Linked DNA regions of Homo sapiens: all the other regions are linked to region 1. The links are contacts of gene promoters, found by promoter capture Hi-C in human tissues and cell types (Jung and others, 2019). All regions are on one chromosome and are shown on one strand. Each heading gives the region's core, a stretch centred on a gene start or on the middle of the fragment in contact. The rest is flanking DNA. Distances are from core to core; before and after follow the strand shown. Region 1 holds the start of MSI1 (musashi RNA binding protein 1). Region 2 has its middle 4.6 kb from the start of SRSF9. Region 3 overlaps GATC (glutamyl-tRNA amidotransferase subunit C).

Region 1 (5,000 bases), core at 1,651-4,150:
GAAGTCTGGGCCTGTTGCTCTAAAGATCATTTTTCCTTAATACCACTGAGATCCTCAATTTACTATGAGGATCATGAGTTTACAACTGCATTGTCCTGTGAGGGCTACCTCTAGAAGGGCTTGTCGCCCCTATTGTGAACAAAGTGGACTGAAGCTGCTGCAGCTGAGATACACCTGCACTGAAAGAGGATTTGTCTAAGTCTAACCCATGTTACTGTGATACAAACAAGCTACTGACCAAAAGAGGTAGACGCTTCCTCCTCAGATTCTGAATGAATATGCTAATACATGGATCCTATCTCAAGCTACTTCTTACACAGCATTGGCTGACTCTGAACAGATGCCTTTACCCATTTCCTTTTTTTTTTTTAATCCAAAATGTGTTTATTGAGATGGTTTCCCACTCATCTTGATTCAGAGTGCTTTGGGTGCTGCTTCCTCCTGAAGGAACATCCTTCTGTAGCCTTCCTTTTCCTCCTGTAGGCTGGCAGAGAACAGTGGAGCAGGCAACACACAAAACTACCGTTTGTGCATGGCTACAGACCATGGTGATTTTATAGCATCCTGGGCATGTCATATCCATGAAGTAGGAATCGGGACTCTGCACCAGGCGTTTCTTCTTCTGTTTCCTCTTCTCTTCTGGAGAAGGATGAAGGAGATCCCTGTCGAGAGGCATGTTCTCGTGGGTAGGTCGCCACTGCCGGAAAGGACCCATTTCCTATCCTTCAAGCTCATCTGCCCAGCAGCACCAGCACACAAACCAAAGTCCAGGAACACTGGAAGATCCCTACTCCCCGCACCTCTCCAATGACCCTTTTTAAGTTCAGACCTAAGAAGAGTCACCTCCCTAATACCGCAGAGGCTACCTGCTCACCCTCATCTGTGTCTCTGCTACAACACAAACTGGAATGCTTTTGTGTCGGAATGGTAAGAAATGCCTTGTGTGGGTGGCCCTCCAGTCCCCAGTCCAGGGGATGCTGAGAAACTGTGGGGCAGAGTAGGGGACACAAACAGGAAAAAGCAAGTTTGTTTCTAGTGTTATGCTCACAGGGTGGCAGGATATACCTGCTGAGCATTCCCAGAAGGTCCCCAAGGAAACCATTACTGTAAGTCTCTCACTTTCTTCTCTGCCTGATGGTTGGGGTGGGGAGAGGGAAGGAGGGCTATCAAGAGGGGGATGGGCACCCTTCCAGAGGTCAGAGTTATGATGCCCAGGAATAAAAGGTGTTGAATTCAGGATGGAATGTGAAGGTGAACAGCAAAGGGCTTGTCAACATGGGTTGTCACTGGATTACACCGGATGGATTAAGGTAGGGATGGGGGAAGGAGTAGAAGGTGAGTTGGGAGGGAGGGGCTTGTGTGGCACTGAGACCCCCAGCAGGGATGGGGAGAAGGGGTGTTGGCCACCTAAGCTTCCTGGTTTGATCCTTTTTTGGCTGGTTTCAGCTGGGGAAGTGAAGGGTCCTAAGGCTTGGATATGGAGAGGTGGGAATATGGAGAGGTGGGGATATGGAGAGGCGGGGATAAGGAGAGGTGGGGATAAGGAGAGTGGCCCCGCAGCTCCCCTGGTGAACCAGAATACTTTCTCAGGGTTGTTCCCAGGCTGGAGGGAGGGAATTTTAGGGGTACGTAAGGTGACTCCAAGGAGCCTTGGGTGCAAGTACTGGGGGATCCCAGAGACCCAGAAGATGGGGGTAGAAAGGAAGGTGTTTGCCTTCACGGGGAGTAGCCTCAAAATAAGAGGGACTGAGGGAAGTCATTCCAAATGCAGTGGGTAGGTAGTTTAGGCTCTTCCAATGGGATGGGGTGGAGCTTAGACCTCTGCAAAAGAAGGGGGTCATTCGGAGGGGACGGTGCACAGCTGAGGCGTTGGGCTCCTAAACTGGAAACAGGAGGCTCTAAGAGGCACTGCCTTTTCCTCCAGCCTCGGTGTGGTGGGGGTGGTGAGTGTCTGGAACCGGGTTTCCCGAATCAGGACAGGAGTCTGAATGGATCTCACAAAAACCGGCCAGGGAGGGAGAGAACCAGGGGAGACTCCTCACACCGGGAGGTGGGGGTGGCGGCAAACTGAGAACCCGGGCTTGGGGCGCGGGATTTTCTCAACAGACCATAGGGTCCACTAATGTGGACGGCAGGGATTTGGGGAAACTAAGGGGGACTCTCACTTTGGACACCAAGGGCTGAGGACGGATTGGGGAAGAGGATACGGTTTCTACTGGGGTGCTGATGGAGGTTCCCCACTCGGGACGCGAGGCACTGAGTGGGTCCCCCAAACTGGATATGGGATCCTGGGAACGGAGCGAGGGCTCTAAATTAGAGCCCTGGGGTGGGGGTGGGGGGCTGTAAATTAGGTTGGGAGGAAACTGGGGGCTCTGAGGGCGGCTTCTCGCTCCGACTGGGGAAATGGAGCATGTGGGGACTGGGGAGCACTAGGGCTATCTCCCGCCCGACCCGAGGAGATTGGGGTTCTCTTCAATTCTGGACAGCAGGGACCTGAGAGGGAAGACCGGGGGGGTTCCCGATCCGGAACCGAGCTACCTTGAAGGCACCGGGAAGCGCTTCATTCCGGGAGGGCGTTCCCGCGGCCGGGCCCCCGCGCCGGGGTGGGTGGGGGGTGCGGCCGCGCCCTGGTCCCGGCCCGCACCGGGATTCGGGGGTCTCGCTCGGCCCCGGAGACCCAGGAGCCCCGCGGGAAGGGGGTCCCGGCGCCGCCGCCTCCGCGGGCGCCCGGGCTCGCGGGCGAGCGCGGGGCTTTATGCGCGCAGGGCGGCGGGGGGAGGAGCCGGCAGGTCGGCCCCCGGCGGGCCCTCCCCTCGGCCGTCCCCGCCCGCCCGCCCGAGCGGGGTCGGGGGAGGGGGCAGCATGGCCTGTCCGTCCGGCCCCCTTCGCCGCGCTCCTCATCTGCCCCGCGCCGAGCGCCGCCGCCGCCGCCGCCGCCGCCGCTCCGCTGCCCGCGCCGCCCGCGGCTCCCGATGGAGACTGACGCGCCCCAGCCCGGCCTCGCCTCCCCGGACTCGCCGCACGACCCCTGGTACGGCCCGGCCCGGCCTGCTTGGCCCGCGCCCGCCCCGGCCCCGCCAACATGGCCGATCCGGGTCCGGCCGGGCCTCCCCGGAGCCCGGGCCCGCGCCCCCTGCGCCCTGGCGCCCGGCGCTCACGCGGGCCCTTTGTGTCTCTCCTCCTCCCGCAGCAAGATGTTCATCGGGGGACTCAGTTGGCAGACTACGCAGGGTGAGCGAGCCCGGGAGCGCCCGCCGGTCCGGCAGGGCACCCCGGACCCCCCGGCGCCCCGGACCCGGACACCCCAGCCCGGCCCTGCGCCCTGCTGACCCCGGGCGCCCTCGCGCCCTCTTTCGCGCCCCGCCCGGAGACCCCGAGAGCGCAGGGCGATCCGCGAGCGCACCCGGCCCAGCGGGTGGAGGGGAGCAGATGAGGGGTTCAGGGGGTATCGGGGGGTGGGCTGGGCCCCCGGGACCCGCCGGCGGCAGCGCCAACTCCGCTCGCACCTGCGGCTCAAACTTTTGTGAGGCTGCTCCCGGAGCGGCGGGAACCCGGCCGGAGCCGTCCCCCTTCCAGCCCAGCTCGGCCCTCGGCTTCCCGGGGCCCCGGTGGGCGCCAGGAGGCTCAGCGGGAACGGGGCGAGGGCGGTGGGGGGCGGCGGCAGTGGAGAACGCGCGGGCAGCTTGGCGCGGGGGCGGCCGGGCCGCTCCGGGGTCACCGGGGGCAAAGGACGGGGGGGGGGGAAGGGCGCGGGGCCCGGGCTGGTCCGAAGGCGGGTGTGTGGTTACAGAAGGGCTGCGCGAATACTTCGGCCAGTTCGGGGAGGTGAAGGAGTGTCTGGTGATGCGGGACCCCCTGACCAAGAGATCCAGGTGAGCCCCTCACCCCCTCCTCCTGCTCCCGGCTCGCCCCCCTCCACCCGCCACTCACTGCCTTGTAACCATCTGCCTCTCCCTCACTACGGCGCGCAGGGGTTTCGGCTTCGTCACTTTCATGGACCAGGCGGGGGTGGATAAAGTGCTGGCGCAATCGCGGCACGAGCTCGACTCCAAAACAGTGAGTGGCCCTCGGGGCTTCGGGGGTCCTTTGGGAGAGGGAGGCTGCCGGAGGAGAGGGTCAGGACTCTCCCCAGGGGACAGCTGGACGGGGTCCATGAGGAAGGAGGGAGTTTTTCTGAGTAAGAGGGCTGCCATGCTCTGAAACTTTGTCACTAGAGTTGGGGGGGAGAGGGAGGAGAAAAATCCCTGGCCTGCCATGAGATGCTACATCCCCCCTCCCCTAGTCCTGGTGAGGGGAGAGGCAGCCGCCACCCTCTCCCTAGAAGTACTAATCATGATGCCTCAGAGCAGAGCTTGGGGTGGGGCTAGGTCCCTCCCCCAGCCCAAATTGGGTGAGTCAGGGTAGCACTGACCCACCCGGTGGCTTCTGTGAACTCTAACTAGTATTTGGCTCTGCGACACCCCCTCTTCATCCAGACCAATGGCAAAGCATCCCTTGAAGCCCCCTCCCTCTCTCCTTCCCTCCTCCCCCGACTTTTGGTCAATGAGCTCCTTGCTTTGTGTGGAAGACAGGGACCTGCTTTGCCCACGGAGGGGATTTATGAGAAAGGCTCTAGCTTGCCTGGAAACGACCCTTCGGAAGACTAGATCTTAGGAGAAGCTGCTTGGTTGGCATTCAAACTCATGGAACATTTTGCTGTTGTCCCACAGCTCCTTCGTGTCTTAGACCCTGCAGGGGGCGCTGGCTCCAGGGCAGATGGAAAAGTAGAAAAGTCAGAGGAGGGGGTTACTCCCATGTGATGGGGGTGTCTGTCTGCTGGGGGCAGGGATAGTGTGGATCTCTTCTCTCCATGCTTCCCTGCTGTCCCCCAGCCTTGGGCCTCTCTGCTTGGGTCAGTCCCTGGCTCCCGTTTACCTGCAACAATAGCTGCTTGTGCCCAAGAATTTGTCAAATTACCGCCTGTCCCCAGCTCCTGTTATCTCTGCCCAGTGGCTCCCGCT
Region 2 (5,000 bases), core at 765-3,264, 110 kb before region 1:
CATGCCTGTAATCCCAGCACTTTGGGAGGCCAAGGCGGGCGGACCACCTGAGGTTGGGAGTTCGAGACCAGCCTGACCAACATGGAGAAATCCCATCTCTACTAAAAAATACAGAATTAGCCAGGTGTGGTGGTGCATGCCTGTAATCCCAGCTACTCAGGAGGCTGAGGCAGGAAAATCGCTTGAACCTGGGAGGCGGAGGTTGCAGTGAGCCGAGATCGCACCACTGCACTCCAGCCTGGGTGACAAGAGCGAAACTCTGTCTCAAAAAACAAACAAAAAAACCCCCCAAACATCCGCTGTCCTTCTAGCACCTTCAAGGAGTGTGTCACAACAAGACAGACTGGCAGCCCATGAGAAGGATGGAATTACAAAAGAAACTGGTCCCCAGCTGCCTAGCAAGGAATGTCTGTCAATGTGACATTCACAGAAGCCCTGCACATGTGCTGGCTGAGGGGGAGAGCCAGCCTCAGGCAGACAGAAGGAAGTTCAGCCACTGGGCATGTGTTAGCATGGGGGATGTGTAGCCTAGAAGCTTCCTGGCTTTCAGTTATTATTATTTTTTTTTAACTTAAAAAAAAAAAACTCCAGATAATTCCCATACTTGTTTTTTACCTTTAAGGAATGTATTTGCCTTGGAGGTGCCATTACTGAATTATATTGACGCAGTTCATTAAAAATCTGCTTAGTATAAAACTGACTTGGGTCTAAAAAAATTAGGATTCTACTAAATAAATGCATCCTTTTTTGTTGCATTGAAAAACATTCTTAGTACTGTTATTAATCTTTTCACACCCCCCTACCCTTTGCTTGTGTTTCTGATTTACTCTGCTGTGAAGAAAGTTTTCAAGGTTTGTTACAGTGGAAAATGTTTTGGAAAAAGTTCTGGGTTGAGGGTAAGGAATTTAGAGCTTAGGAAATGAAATTTGGTGAACCTGATGAGCTCATTTGCCATTTTGTACCTCAGTTCCACTTTTCTGGAGCTAGAATAACTGTTCTTTATATACTAGTTAATAAAATCAACAGGTGTTTACTAAGCACTTACTATGTGCCAGTACCATAGGGCTGTAAAGGGAAGTGATTGGTCTCAGTGTTTCTTGGCCTTTTTTGGGGGAATGGGGGAGTACAGCTTATAGACCTTTGAGAATGATAAATTCCTACGCTGTCCTGTATGGTAGCCACTAGCCACATTTGGCTATTACAATTAAAGTTAATTATTGTTAAATATAATTTAAGAAGTTGGTTTCTCAGTTGCAGTAGCCACATTTTAAGTGCTCAATAGCTACATGTAACCAATGGCTACCACATAGAACTCAAATATAGAATGTTTTCATCATCCTAGAAAGTTCTGTGGGACAGTGCTACATGGAGATTCTCCCCAGAATAAAAACACTTTTCTGCCCACATACAATATTTTGCATACAACTGTTACAACTTTGCAGGATCAGGGTCAGGAGGTGGAGGTTGAGGGGGCAGGGAGGCAGGAGTTCACTGATCCCAGAAGCCCATTAATCCAAGAAAAGGAAGCCCTGATATAAAAAGCTGTTTGAAGACTCCATCACAGAATTTAACAAGTTAGTAAAAATAAAGCAACCGAGCTGCTACAAATACAGTATGTTCACTTGAAGTAACTTCATATAAAATCAAGCCCTTGTGTTCCCACCTGTTTGGGCATATTCAAAGAAAACACCAGTTCATTATCTAAAAGTTATTGAAAAATAATGTTAAAGATTTTTTGCAGTCTCTGAAAAAAACACCAGAGGGGAATTATATTCACAATATACTGCAAATCTTGAATTATCTTTCCCATTTTTCTCTTCTCATCCTCCCACACTTGACACTTGCTTTCCTAAAGCTCACCCCCAATTCCAAACTCTCTTCCAAACCTCCTAGTTCTGCTGCTGTTTCTCTTCTTCCTCCCCTGCATGGCTCAGTTCTTTATTATGTAGCTTTCCAGAATATGTTTTATTTTACTCCATCACACAAGTACAGTGGTAGAGAATGACAGAGAAAGCTCCCAGGGTGCTGTGACCAGGAACACGTTTCCCAGTGACTCATTCCATAGCTCTCCTGCCAGGCGGGACCAGTTCCTCATCTTCTCAGATGGTCTACTCCCCCATCACTTCCTCTCTGCCCACTGATACCTAGGGCCAAGGTCTGGGAGGAGCTCATGACTGAGCCTGACAGAGAGGAAAATATTTTGCTGGGATGCCAGAGGGGACTGATGTCACAGAGAAAAGGAGAAAACCAGATGGGCAGGTTTGCAGCATGTTTTATGCCTGGCGTTGTTGGTTTTTTGTTTGTTTTAAATTTTTATTTCAATAGGTTTTTGGGGAACAGGTGGTGTTTGGTTATATGGATAAGTTCTTTAAGTTATTTAGTGGTGATTTCTGAGATTTTCATGCACTCATCACCCGAGCTGTTGTTGGTTTTGGGATTTTTTTTTTTTTTTATGTTGTTTTTTTCAGTTGGGCACTGCCCTACACTCTGGTGGAGAATAAATGGCTTGCTGTGGGAACTGCATTAATTCTTAATAGTCTGCCAACATCAAAGGCTTCTTTTCAGTTTGGTGAAAAGAAGGACAAGCCCATTTCTGTAACAGGATCTCACTCTGTCGCCCAGGCTGGAGTGCAGCGGTGCAATATTGGCTCACTGCAACCTCTGCCTCCTGGGCTTAAGTGATTCTCCCCCCTCAGCCTCCCAAGTAGCTGGGACTATGGGTGTGTGCCACCATGCCCAGCTAATTTTTGTATTTTTTGTAGAGACGGGGTTTTAACATGTTGCCCAGGCTGGTGGTGCCTCAGCTCCTTCTCTCTTCTTCCCTGCTTGAACTCCTTGCCCCAGTCACACCAGTAGGGATTTTCCCTGGTCTGCTACTCTCTCTCCTATTTGGGTGATTTCTCATGGTGTCCTTTTTTATGTTTTGAGACAGAGTCTCACTCTGTTGCCCAGGCTGGAGTGCAGTGGTGCAATCATGGCTAACTACAGCTTCAACCTCCCAGGCTCAAGCAGTCCTCCCACCTCAGCCTCTTAAGTAGCTGGGACTGTCAGGTGCCGTGGCTAATGCCTGTAATCCCAGCACTTTGGGAGGCCGAGATGGGCGGATCACTTGAGCTCAAGAGTTCGAGATCAAGTAGCTGAGACCACAGGTGCACGTTACCATGCCTAGATAATTTTTTAATTTTTTTTTTTTTTTTTTTTTGAGACAGAGTCTCGGTGTTGACCAGGCTGGAGTTCAGTGGCGCAATCTCGGCTCACTGCAACCTCTGCCTCCCGGGTTCAAGCAATTCTCCTGCCTCAGCCTCCAAAGTAGCTGGGATTACAGGTGTGCGCCACCACCTCCGACTAATTTTTGTGTTTTTAGTAAAGATGAGGTTTTGCCATGTTGACCAGGCTGGTCTCGAACTCCTGACTTCAAGTGATCCACCCACCTTGACCTCCCCAAAGTGCTGGGATTACAGGCATGAGCCACTGGGCCTGGCAATTTTTAAGTTTTTTGTAGAGATAGGGGTCTCACTACATTGCCTAGCCTGGTCTCAAACTCCTGGACTCAAGCCATCCTCCTGCCTCAGCCTCCCAAAGTGCTGGGATTACTGCCACTGCACTCAGCAGTCATGCCCTCATTTTTGTCTGAAATGCCCTTCCCTCTTCCCCCTGGTTAACTCCTACTGGTTCTTCAAGACTCTAAACATCTCCTCCCAGAAGCCTTCCTTAGAATCTCTAAGACTGTGGTAGGTGACCCTCCGATGTAGTCTCAAGCAGCTTATCCTTATCACAACTGTACTCTACATGACCGAATAGCAACCTATATACACAACTCAAGGACAGAGCTGTATTATTGCATGCCCTGGGCCTCATACAGGACCTAAATCATAAATAATGTTGAATATCTAGATGAACAAAAAGTTTAAAAGGTGTCCCTGCCTAGAGTCTCTGGCCTTAGCAGAGAATGGAACCTATGAACCCTTTGAACATGAAGTCATAATTGTGGTCTCATTTGTGTTCTAACTGCAAAGGTCAGTACAGGAATAAAGGGGGTTTCATGGATGATCATAAATGCCTCCTAAGGATTTAGCTGTGCTCTATCTAATCCAAGAAGCCTGTACTAACCACATCCCTACATTTTCTGCTGGGTAACTGAACTCCTTTGGAGATTGTATGCTGCAGGACATTGCACAATTAAAGCTGAATTATTATTATTTGCAAGCAGTTTTCCACCTACAGTCCTATTGAGTCACTTAGCTGACTCTATTTCTCTCTCCCTAGGAGACTGCCCAATTGTCTCCAACAGCACTTTTTTTTCCTTTTTTGTCTTTCCAGGCAACAATCACATAGGAGTGGTAGGACTCAGAGAATGGTATTAATACACCTAAGCACACCACCCAAAATGAGAAGGCATCTGGACTTTCGGATGCCTATAGGATATGTAAGCTCCTATAAGGCTGCACACTTAGACTCGAGATCATATTTGGCCAGGGCTCTTTCCTGCTTGTCTAGAGAACAGCTAGATGCTTTACATAATCCAGAATACAACAGATAGTTATAATGGTTTTATTTTAGGAATCATTTATTATGTTTTATTCCAATTATAAAAGTAGTGCATGCTAATTACAATTTGAGAAATACAGAAAAGCATAAATAAAAACATAGAAATCACTGCCATCAAGAGATATCTCCACAACCACAACATTTGGAAAGCTTTTTCTATTTTTTTTTTGTTACAAGCAGCAAATACACTATATATGTGTATACATTAAACACCACTTTCAATTCACTTTAACTGTAAATTACTGTGACTTTAATATCTCTGTCATATTAAAAACATGACTTAATAATTGTGTAACATTCAAAGTTAATGTGTTGAGCCACTCCCTTATTATCAAGTTTAATTTTTTTAATTGCACAGAATGCAATGATAAATATACACATGTAATTTATTATGAGAATCTCTTGCTTATTTCCGTCTGATAAAAATCCTACAAGCAGCTGGGCGCGGTGGC
Region 3 (5,000 bases), core at 2,414-4,913, 87 kb before region 1:
GCTGAGCCTGCCGCCCAGCTGGCTCTACTGAGCTAACTGATCACTACTTTCTCATGGAAAATATGGAAGTAATGTAGCTACTGTCCTGTTTTCCTAACTGGGAGTATCTGAAAGAATCAGTTCTAAGTGTAGCCAAATTCACCTTTTTCAGTAAGGAGTATACAGGTTGATTAGCCACTAATATGCAGATAGGACTAGAAGGAAACACTGACCATGAACTCAGGTGGTCCCAAAAAGCAAAGTCTGAAGTAAGGTTCTGTGTGGGAGATAGCATGTCTGATCAAAAGATATTTCTGCTGGAGCCACAACTATCAGGCTCTGAGATGGAGAGTCTCCTTTCTCTCCACAGTTAACAGGTGGTTTAGTGGATTGGAGGCATGATTAAGAGTTTAGCTCACGGCCGGGTGCGGTGGCTCACACCTGTAATCCCAGCACTCTGGGAGGCCGAAGCGGACGATCACGAGGTCAGGAGAGAGAGACCATCCTGGCTAACACGGTGAAACCCCGTCTCTACTAAAAATACAAAAAATTAGCCAGGCGTTGTGGTGGGCGCCTGTAGTCCTAGCTACTTGGGAGGCTAAGGCAGGAGAATGGCATGAACGTGGAAGGTGGAGCTTGCAGTGAGCCGAGATCGCGCCACTGCACTCCAGCTTGGGCAACAGAGCAAGACTCCGTCTCAAAACAAACAAAAAGTTTAGCTCACAAAATTTCTAGCTTTCTTTCCCATCCTTGCATCAACCAGAGCCTGCCTTTAACTGGCACCTTAAGCTGACCAGGGCCAATGTCTTCTGTGGAGTCTGCTCAGAATGATTCTCCCTCAGGATATCCTGAACTGGAAGTTGGCACTTAGCAGGCTACCTGATTGCTTTTGGCTAGTCCCACTCCCAGATGCCCAGAGGGGTAGTACAACAGCTCCAAGTATTCACCTACCTGCAGAGGAGATAAAAACAGTCAACCTATCCAAGGTTCTGGATTTTACTGTCAGCCCAGAGTAATTTTAAAGCTTCTATTTAAAATATTTACAGTAGGTAGATGATGCAAATCTCTATACCAGCTGTTGTAAACTGATGGCTCACAGACTGCACCTGGCTTGCAGATGTGTTTTATTTGGCTTGGATGGTATTTTGTTTTTTAAATTTTGAATTGGTTGCTAGCACTTAAAATTTAAGAAATATCGGCGGGGTGCAGTGGCTCACCCCTGTAATCCCAGCACTTTGGGAGGCTGAGGCGGGTAGATCACCAGTTCAAGACTAGCCTGGCCAAGATGGTGAAATCCTGCCTCTACTAAAAATACAAAAATATTAGCCAGGCATGGTGGCAGGCACCTGTAATCCCAGCTACTCGGCAGGCTGAGGCAGAGAATTGCTTGAACCCGGGAGGCAGAGGTTGCAGTGAGTCAAGATTGCACTCCAGCCTGGGTGACCGAGCGAGACTCCATCTCAAAAAAAAAAAAAAAAATTTAAGAAATATCACACAAAATGTCAGGTATCCAGGTTCTCTGGAGAAATGGGTTTACATTCCTGCCTGGCAACACTGATAGGGTAGCAGCCATGCTCCTCCTGCTTTGAATGGGCACAGACTGAGGGCAGACCCTAATGGCGTTTGAATCATGTCATAGGCAAAGATGTGACAGAAACATCTGGGCTAAGGCCACACATGATAACTAAGTTGTCACAATAAGATTCGTTTTGGGAGGCCGAGGTGGGTGGATCACCTGAGGTCGGGAGATCGAGACCATCCTGGCTAACACAGTGAAACCCTGTCTCTACTAAAAATACAAAAAATTAGCCAGGCGTGCTGGTGCATGCCTGTAATCCCAGCTACTGGGGAGCCTGAGCAGGAGAATCGCTTGAACCCGGGAGGTGGAGGTTGCGGTGAGCCGAGATTGCACCATTGCACTCCAGCCTGGGCAACAAGAGCGAAACTCCGTCTCAAAAAAAAAAAAAAAAAAAAAGGATTCTTTTAGGAAAGGACTGGTTTTTTTGTGGTACCCAGCCCAAAGCTAGACCTAACAAATATTTATTCATGGTATGAATACTAGAAAGTTGGAGTCGATTACAGGATCTGGCAGGGTCTTAACTGTGGCTTTGAGAAACACTGAATGCCAGCTGCCCCTTTAGGGAGATCTTGAGCTCCAGATTTCCACCTACTTTAAACCTCCCGCATGCCCCCAATCCTGTTTTGCTTGTTCCTGTTACTAACTGCCCCCTAGAGGTGAGTATGACCCTGGACCCTACTGCCACCTTAATGCCACCATCTGTATGCACTTCATCCTTTTCAAAGTGCCTTCACATAGCATCTTTGGTCCTCATGCTTCCTGCTTCATTCCTAAGGTTACTGTGAGACTATCTGTTAAACCATTCTGGGCAGCACGTACCTGGGGGGGCCACAAAGTACTCCTCCACGACGCGATGGGAGTTTTGTAGTAATTCATCAGCACAGTTGCCTTCTACCACATTGTCGGATCTCAGGTATAGACATCTACAAAACCCAGAAGCTCAAGGTTACCCTCTCAGAGAAGGGGGCTTTTAGGGGATGATGGAGAGGGGCAAGAAGGAGAGAACAAGGAAGCAGTATATTCTTGAGTTAATGGGCACTGTTCAAAGATAGAGAAGCTGGGATCAACAGTAGACCAAATAACAGCCTACAGTTTATAGATTGACCGAACAACCCTGAGAAGTAAGTGCTAATTACTTCTCTGGATTGATTTAACAAATAGTTTTTGATGATTATATGGGCAACTGTCTTTTGGTGGGGACAGGTAAAAGCAATTACAAAAACAATATTTTAAATCTAACAGAGGTTAGTACAGCCTGCCAAAGGATAGAAAGGGTACCTAGTCCAGCCTGCGTGAGTAGCACATCCTCAGAATAGCTGATGTCACTGTTCAAGGATGGGCAAGAAATAGCTGGATTGGGGGATGAAGGTATGAGAAATGGACTTCCTGGCACGTATAGCAGCATGAATCCCAAAGCAATAGAGCCGAGAGCTCAGAGATTCAGAGAAGGACAGGGAGTTTAGCAGGCTGGGGTGTGGTCTGCCGGGGTGGAAGATGAAGCTGGAAAGCTAAGCAGAGATGGGGAAGCAAACTTGCCACAAGAGTAACTTAAGGATGTTGGCTGCTAAGTAACAACTGGGATCTCAGCCCAATCTGATACACCTAAAATGAATGCTTTTTCCACCACAGCCACTTTGGTGGATGTGCCTGCCCTTGAGCAAGATGTGCCACCAACAGCTCAAGAATCTCCCAGTGTTCTGTGGGACCTAGTGACTTTACTAAAGCCTTCAGATGGCAAACCGGTAAAAAACACACAAGAGCTTGAACATTTGCATGAGGCTTCACTATTGTTTCAAGGTGTAAAAGTGTGTAAGCCTGCTTCCAGATACTTAGATTAAAAAAATAAGCAGTCTGTTAAATCACTGATATGGTATTCGGTAGTAGCCACGCTCCTCCTGCTTTGAGTGGGCACAGACTGAGGGCAGACCCTAATGGCGTTTGAGTCATGTCAGAGAGGGACAAAGATGTGACAGGTACATCTGGGCTAAGGCTGCACATAAGAACTAAGTTGTCAGCCGGGCGCGGTGGCTCACGCCTGTAATCCCAGCACTTTGGGAGGCCGAGGTGGGCGGATCACGAGGTCAGGAGATCGAGACCATCCTGGCTAACACGGTGAAACCCCATCTCTACTAAAAATACAAAAAAATTAGCCGGGCGTGGTGGTGGGCGCCTGTAGACCCAGCTACTTGGGAGGCTGAGGCAGGAGAATGGCGTGAACCCGGGAGGCGGAGCTTGCAGTGAGCCGAGATCGCGCCACTGCACTCCAGCCTGGGCGACAGAGCGATACTCTGCCTCAAAAAAAAAGAGAACTAAGTTGTCACAATAAGATTATTTTAGGAAAGGACTAGTTCTTTTTTTGTGGCACCCAGCCCAAAGCTAGACACAACAAATATTTACTCATGGTATGAATATTAGAAAGTTGAAGTCTGTTACAGGACCTGGCACATTCTTAACTGTGTGGCCTTGAACAAGTATGATCTTTTCAGACATTAAATTTCTTGGAGGGGGGCGGCGGGGTGTGGGGGAGAAAGGCCAGGTGTGGTGGCTCTTGCATGTAATCCCAGCACTTTGGAAGGCTAAGGCGGGTGGATCACCTGAATTCAGGAGTTCAAGACCAGCCTGGGCAACGTGGGGAAACCACATCTCTACTAAAAATACAAAAACTAGCCAAGCGTGGTGGCACGCACGTGTGATCCCAACTACTCGGGAGGCTGAGGCGGGAGAATCGCCTGAACCCAGGAGGCGGAGGTTGCAGTGAGCTGAGATGGCACCACTGCACTCAAGCCTGGGCGACAGAGCAAGAAGAAAAAAAAAAAGGCCAGGCACAGTGGCTCAAGCCTGTAATCCCAGCACTTTGGGAGGCCAAAGCAGGTGGATCACCTGAGGTCAGGAGTTCGAGACCATCCAATATGGTGAAACCCTGTCTCTACTAAAAATATAAAAGTTAGCCGGGCATGGTGGTACATACCTGTAATCCCAGCTACCTGGGAGGCTGAGGCACAAGAATCACTTGAATGTAGGAAGCAGAGTTTGTAGTGAGCGGAGATCACACCACTGCACTCCAACCTGGGTGACAGAGTGAGACAGTGTCTCACACACACACACACAAAAGAGAGTTGTACTAGATTTTTTTTTTTTTTTGAATAACACAAGGACTGTATTCATTTAAGAAAACTTGGGAGAACAAAAGTAAAATAAAAATCATAATTATACTATTCAAAGGTAACCCTTGGACTTTCTGGAGTTTATAGTTTCTGTTGGACAGTATTAAAAAATGGCTAAGAGGCCGGGCGCGGTGCCTCATGCCTGTGATCCCAGCACTTTGGGAGACTGAGGCGGGCAGATCACGAGGTCAGGAGATCAAGACCATCCTGGCTGACAGGGTGAAACCCCGTCTCTACTAAAAATACAAAAAAAAAAAAATTAGCCAGGCGTGGTGGCG

What was found. Contacts are between HindIII fragments. The study calls those that stand out against the background at their distance.
Region 2: a fragment that was not itself captured here is called in contact with the fragment with the promoter of MSI1 in region 1 in 4 of the 25 tissues and cell types used here (H1 embryonic stem cells, dorsolateral prefrontal cortex, heart left ventricle and 1 more).
Region 3: a contact is called between a fragment that was not itself captured here and the fragment with the promoter of MSI1 in region 1, in 4 of the 25 tissues and cell types used here (H1 embryonic stem cells, liver, mesenchymal stem cells and 1 more).

Annotation. Positions count from the first base shown.
Region 1 is chr12:120,367,064-120,372,063 of GRCh38, reverse strand. MSI1 (musashi RNA binding protein 1) reads left to right here and starts at 2,900. Exons shown (of 15, transcript NM_002442.4): 1 at 2,900-3,031; 2 at 3,191-3,231; 3 at 3,791-3,872; 4 at 3,972-4,056. The coding sequence starts at 2,973. It also overlaps the pseudogene RPS27P25. The HindIII fragment of the contact is 19,353 bases long and covers 592-5,000 here.
Region 2 is chr12:120,471,895-120,476,894 of GRCh38, reverse strand. It overlaps a transcript of DYNLL1 not described here. Among named protein-coding and RNA genes, the nearest start is that of SRSF9, 4.6 kb to the right of the region's middle. The HindIII fragment of the contact is 6,330 bases long and covers 1-5,000 here.
Region 3 is chr12:120,454,557-120,459,556 of GRCh38, reverse strand. GATC (glutamyl-tRNA amidotransferase subunit C) reads right to left here. Exons shown (of 4, transcript NM_176818.3): 3 at 2,378-2,481. Among named protein-coding and RNA genes, the nearest start is that of GATC, 11 kb to the right of the region's middle. The HindIII fragment of the contact is 8,224 bases long and covers 1-5,000 here.